2 separate regions of the Homo sapiens genome follow, and region 1 is linked to region 2. Evidence: promoter capture Hi-C in human tissues and cell types (Jung and others, 2019). All regions are on one chromosome and are shown on one strand. The core of a region is centred on a gene start or on the middle of the fragment in contact, and the rest is flanking DNA. Distances in the headings are between cores, read along the strand shown.

What was found. Contacts are between HindIII fragments. The study calls those that stand out against the background at their distance.
Region 1: a contact is called between a fragment that was not itself captured here and the fragment with the promoter of MAML1 in region 2, in 1 of the 25 tissues and cell types used here (hippocampus).

What each region holds. Positions count from the first base shown.
Region 1 is chr5:180,313,729-180,316,428 of GRCh38, reverse strand. It overlaps GFPT2 (glutamine-fructose-6-phosphate transaminase 2), which reads left to right. Exons shown (of 19, transcript NM_005110.4): 13 at 1-88; 14 at 2,465-2,622. Among named protein-coding and RNA genes, the nearest start is that of MAPK9, 23 kb to the right of the region's middle. RefSeq lists an enhancer at 2,386-2,680. The HindIII fragment of the contact is 6,418 bases long and covers 1-2,700 here.
Region 2 is chr5:179,731,519-179,734,218 of GRCh38, reverse strand. MAML1 (mastermind like transcriptional coactivator 1) reads right to left here and starts at 1,397. Exons shown (of 5, transcript NM_014757.5): 1 at 792-1,397. The coding sequence starts at 1,106. CANX (calnexin) reads right to left here. Exons shown (of 15, transcript NM_001746.4): 15 at 2,578-2,700. RefSeq lists silencers at 805-864, 1,105-1,304 and enhancers at 493-993, 1,755-1,854. The HindIII fragment of the contact is 20,196 bases long and covers 1-2,700 here.

The sequences.
Region 1 (2,700 bases), core at 4-2,503, 580 kb before region 2:
CCTGTGATGGTTGAACTTGCTAGTGATTTTCTGGACAGGAACACACCTGTGTTCAGGGATGACGTTTGCTTTTTCATCAGCCAGTCAGGTAAGGGACACAGGCATTGTGGCCAGCCTTGCATCAGGTCAGCTCTGGGCTCTCTCCTCTTCTCCTTCATTCAGTTAAGTCCTCTGCATGGCTACCCTGTGCTGCGAACCCTCTCTTGCAGCGGTCATTTAACCCGTAGAGCCATGGATTACTGTCGCCATTGTACGGGGAGGGCAAGAGATGTCTAAGGCCATGCAGTCAGGGGGTGACAGCTGGGATTGGGCTGGAAATCCACGCACGTTAGTCTTTCCCCTGCCCCGTGGCTTCTCCCTCTTCTTGCCTATCCAAGACTTCAAGGACCACTTACCGAAGTGCTCATAAATGTTTGCTGATTTATGTTAATAGAAAAAGCATCTCCTTTAACATTTTGTTAGGTTGAGAGTCACGTGGAGGACCCAGTATGGGCTCTGTGCCCAAGTGTCCAAGCCGAGCTGCCTGTGGCATGCAGTGCCCATGCTGCCCAGCAGGGGGAGGTGTGGGGGAGACAGTGCTCCCTTTTAGGGCCAAGGAAGGTCTCCCAAGCTACATGCACCCCATCTGGTGCCATCCCAACACTGGGCTTGACATTTGCTCCAGCTGTCTCAGGGAGGTGATCCAGGGCCATAGGCTTGGAGTCTCCTTGAGCTCGTGGAAGATTTTTGAAATGTTTTAATTACGGATAATTCCAAGCCTTTATAAAAGTAGAATTTTCATATAATGAATATCCTAGCCTTATCCAGCCCATCTTGTGCCGGTCGGACACACTCATATTAACCCCTCGTCTCCATGGGGTTACTTTGAAGCCAATCCCGGGCATCATGATATTCATCCATATAAATACTTCAGGCTGCATGATTAAAATGACAAAAGAAAAACATATAACCGGCCGGGCGCGGTGGCTCACGCCTGTAATCCCAGCACTTTGGGAGGCTGAGGTGGGCGGATCACGAGGTCAGGAGATTGAGGCCATCCTGGCTCACACAGTGAAACCCCGTCTCTACTAAAAATATAAAACAATTAGCCGGGCGTGGTGGCGGGCGCCTGTAGTCCCGGCTACTCAGGAGGCTGAGGCAGGAGAATGGCGTGAACCCGGGAGGCGGAGCTTGCAGTGAGCTGAGATCGCGCCACTGCACTCCAGCCTGGGCGACAGAGCGAGACTCCGTCTCAAAAAAAAAAAAAAGAAAAAGAAAAACGTATGACCACGGTGTTACTACCACAACTAAAATACTGATTGTAATGCCCTATCATCTATTAGGACTTTTAGTACTCCTGCCATTTTCCATTTTAAATACCATTTCCATTTTGTTGACAAGTGAAGAAAAACCAGTACAGATACACCGACCATCCGGCCCACCACCTTATGACGCAGGAGCTGCTGCCGTGTTCACCTTTGGGTTTCTGATCCCACCAGAGCCTCAGACTATTTTATAAATTGGTGGGAGACATTAACAAAAGAACAGAGGTGGAGCTAATATGAAAATAATGCAGTGGCAGCTTCCGAATCTCTGTGTGTATAGAAGTCAGCCCTTTAATGAGATTGAAAAAACACTATCGAACCCTAGGGCGCGGGTGACAGAAGTTAGAACCCCCTTTCCCGCACCCTCACCGCAGTACCCCGTGACACTCCAGTGCCATAACCCAGGGCTCTGAAGAAAGAAAAGCAGAGGAGAATTGGGCCACCTAGCACCGGGCGGCACCTGCCTGCCCTGCAAAGCTGGGACAGACACAGCCAAGAGCAGTGGCCCTGCAAACAGAACAGCCTCCCGACTCATGAGGATTTCAACAGTTTTGATTTTATAGTCTGGCTTATGCTGAATTTAATTTGAGTGCTTTAGGACTCACAAACATAGGGAGCTTGTGCTGGTTTATGCATGAAGCTGTTTAGCTTTATTCTAAAAACAATTTGAGTCCACACTGAGAGGCTTGCAAGAAGTGTCCTTTCAAACAGGATCTAGCTGAGAAACACCACTTGGGGACATTCCTGCTTGTCAGATGTTAAATCTGTTCCATCTCAGCACGTTCTGAATAAGGCAGCTTATTCAGTTGCAGAGAGGGCGCTGGGAGCCAAGCCCACCTGTCACCAGCTGTATGGCTTTGATCAGAGCACCGGTTTCCTCCTGTCTCTGAGCCCTCATCCTCAAGAGGAAAATGGGGACGATGGTCCTCACGGGGTTGTCACGAGATTTAAATGAAAAGATGCTTGCCACAAATAGTAACACACCTTGAATGTAAGAATCAACCGAAAAGGCTGTTGAGCGAGCGTTTTCCTTTCTGAACACCCGCTGGCTGTGTCTCGGGCGCCGATTTCCCTGTAAGAGCCGGCGGTGAAGGAGGAAGGGGTTTGGGGTGGGGCCGAGGCTGGCGGAGCGCGGCACTGAGAGGGCCCCTGGGCGGCAGGCGAGACCGCGGACACCCTCCTGGCGCTGCGCTACTGTAAGGACCGCGGCGCTCTCACCGTGGGCGTCACCAACACCGTGGGCAGCTCCATCTCTCGCGAGACCGACTGCGGCGTCCACATCAACGCAGGGCCGGAGATCGGCGTGGCCAGCACCAAGGTAGGAGGAGCCACGGGCGCCCGTCCCAGGGAGAGCCTGGCGGAGGCAGGTGCACCAGAGGCCGCCCTCCTCCGGCCT
Region 2 (2,700 bases), core at 148-2,647:
AAACTAAAATCCCCAAGAAAACCACTGAAAAACCTTGTCTCTTTTGTAAATCTGTTTCAGGAAGAAAAACCTCTAACCAACAAATTTCAGGAACATTTACTGAGAGCCCAAAGGGAGTAATAATTGACCAACAATCTAACATCATCAGAGATTTTAAACAGGCCTGATAAATTAAAACTAGAATTGTCAACAATATTGCAGGAATCTCAAGTTCACAAAGTTCAGGCTACCTAAACAAGGAATACTTATATGCAACTCATTGAACATTTTACTAAGTTTTCCAAAAATTTCTTGATTTTCCATTCAGAGGAGTTTCAGTTGGTCAACCAAAGGCCGACTTATTTCCACATGAAAGCCCTGATCCTGCTCACAGCACAGGATCTTGTAAAGGGCAAGGACCCAATAAACATTTGCAGAATAAATGAGGCCAGGCCTACGGTGCAGGAACTCCCTCCATCACAGGCGACTCGAATGCTAGTCTATTTCGAATAAAGATCTCAACATCCCGGAATCAAGTCTGGAAGAAAAACCCTCCGGTTAGCGTTCGCCAGCCTTCCCAGGTCGGGCCTCCTGCAAGGCCCTCAAGGCGCTGTTTTCCCAAAGTAACGCCACCGTGCCACTTCCCAAAGATGACAACCTCTCAGCTCCCTGCCATGTTACCCTCTCTCCAGCCAGATCCAGGAGTCGCGGACGCCTGGGGAAGTCTCCCAGCGGCCCGATCCGCGTCAGAGGAAGCGTTTTCGGGAGAGGGGGCTGCCGCCACGACAAGCGCCTTCCCGCGCCCTACTCACCGTGGCCGGGCGGCCGTGCTCGGGGCCGTCAGCGGCGTCCAGGCGCGGGGCCGGGGCGGCGGGCGCCGGGGCCGTGGCGGCGGGCGGCTGCCTGTGCTTCCCGGCGCGCTTGGCCTTGGCCTGGATGCAGCGCTGGTGCAGGGCGAAGGTGTGTTGGCGCTCCAGCTCCAGGCGCTCGGGCGACACGGCCTCGTAGCGGGCCTCGCAGGTGCTGTGGTGGCGCCGGCACAGCTCGATGCGCCGGCGAAGGCGCTCCATGACCGCGCTGTGCCGCGGCAGCGCGAACTCCGCCATGGGGCAGGTGGGCAGCACCATGGGCCGCGGGCTGCACGGGCCGGGCCCGGGGCCGGGCCTCTCGGGGCCGGCTGGCACTGCGGGCTTCGCTCCCCGCGGCTACCCCTCTCCGCCTCACGGCCGCGCCATGCCCCCGAGGGCAGCGGAGCGGGCTCGCGCGCGGCGGCGGGTTTTCCTCCTGCCCCGCTCGGCCCGACCCCCAGCCGGCGCTTGCTGCCTACCTCAAGCCTCGGCCTCTCCCCACCGCCCCGGCCCCATTGTTTTCCGCGCTACCGCCGCGGCCGCCATCTTAAAATTGTTTTCGGGCCTCTCGGAAGAAGGCGGGGCCTCGGTAAGAGACCTTGTGCATCACGACTGATGAGCAGGGGCCCTGGCCAATCAGAGAAGGAAGAACCGGCCGCCCGAGGGCGTGGGGACGAGCACGCAAGAGGCGCGCTCGGGCGCCAGAGCGGTATTTAAAAGGAATTCTCAAGCGAAGGGCGGAGGGAAGCCCCTGGGCGGGCCTTAATCCTGGGGGCGGAGCTAAGCGTGACTGACAGGAGCCCGTCCAAGAGGCGGCTATTGGTTTCCTGCACAGCACCCGCTGAAGGCAGGCCCTTCCGGCTACCCCGAGAAAAGGGGAATCTGGCAGGCGAGTGCGGCGCAGCTGGCCAGTCCCTGTCGCCCGCCTGGCAGTACAGAGACCTTTTTTTTAAATTATTTTTTAAATTTCGACTTTGATAAACTCTAAGTAGCCACGCTATTTTAATGTCAGCCGTTTTACTTTGACCTTATTCCTTGTATCCAGCCCCATAATTGGTCAGAATCGTCTAGTGAGCTGGTAGTTTCCTCTTGCAACATTCCGAATCACTGGTAGTTTCCACCTATTTGTAAAAGCCCGAGCAAGTTTCAAAAGTGCAGTATTACTCACTACTTAAAAAAAAAGTCCAGAAGATGTGAGCAAAAGCATGCAAGAGTGCAGCTCCATTAGAGGGAACTGGAAATGCAAAGGACGACGTTTCACCACAACCACCGCCTTCCAGGCTCAAGCGATTCTCCTGCCTCAGCCTCTCCAGTAGCTGGGATTACAGGCATGCGCCACCACGCGCGGCTAATTTTGTATTTTTAGTAGAGACGGGGTGTCTCCATGTCGGTCAGGCTGGTCTCCCACTCCTGACCTCAGGTGATCCGCCCACCTCGGCCTGCCAAAGTACCGCGATTACAGGCGTGAGCCGCCGCGCCGGACCAAAAACAGTCCTTTAGGTAAAACTGAGTTACTCAACAAAACCAAACCAAGACAAATTATGCCCCATTATTAAAACTAATAGGCAAAGGGGAGTAGAGGGACTGGAGCAATCAAACAGTGTTAGTACTAAAACTAGATAGTGTGATGCCAAAGGATATCAGGAACTCTAGATATGGGCACTCTAATTGCTAAAAGGTTAAGCAGGAGGTGGCAGGAGGCTGCACATTGAGATACACCATCAGTAGTTCAAACATTCGTTACTCTAGCTTTTTACTAGGGCTCATGAGGTTTTATTTTAAAATCAAGAGAAAACAACAATCAAATATGTCTTCATACAAACGCAGCAGAAAAATACAAATCCTAATGTTTTAAATGGAGAAAGTGGGCCAC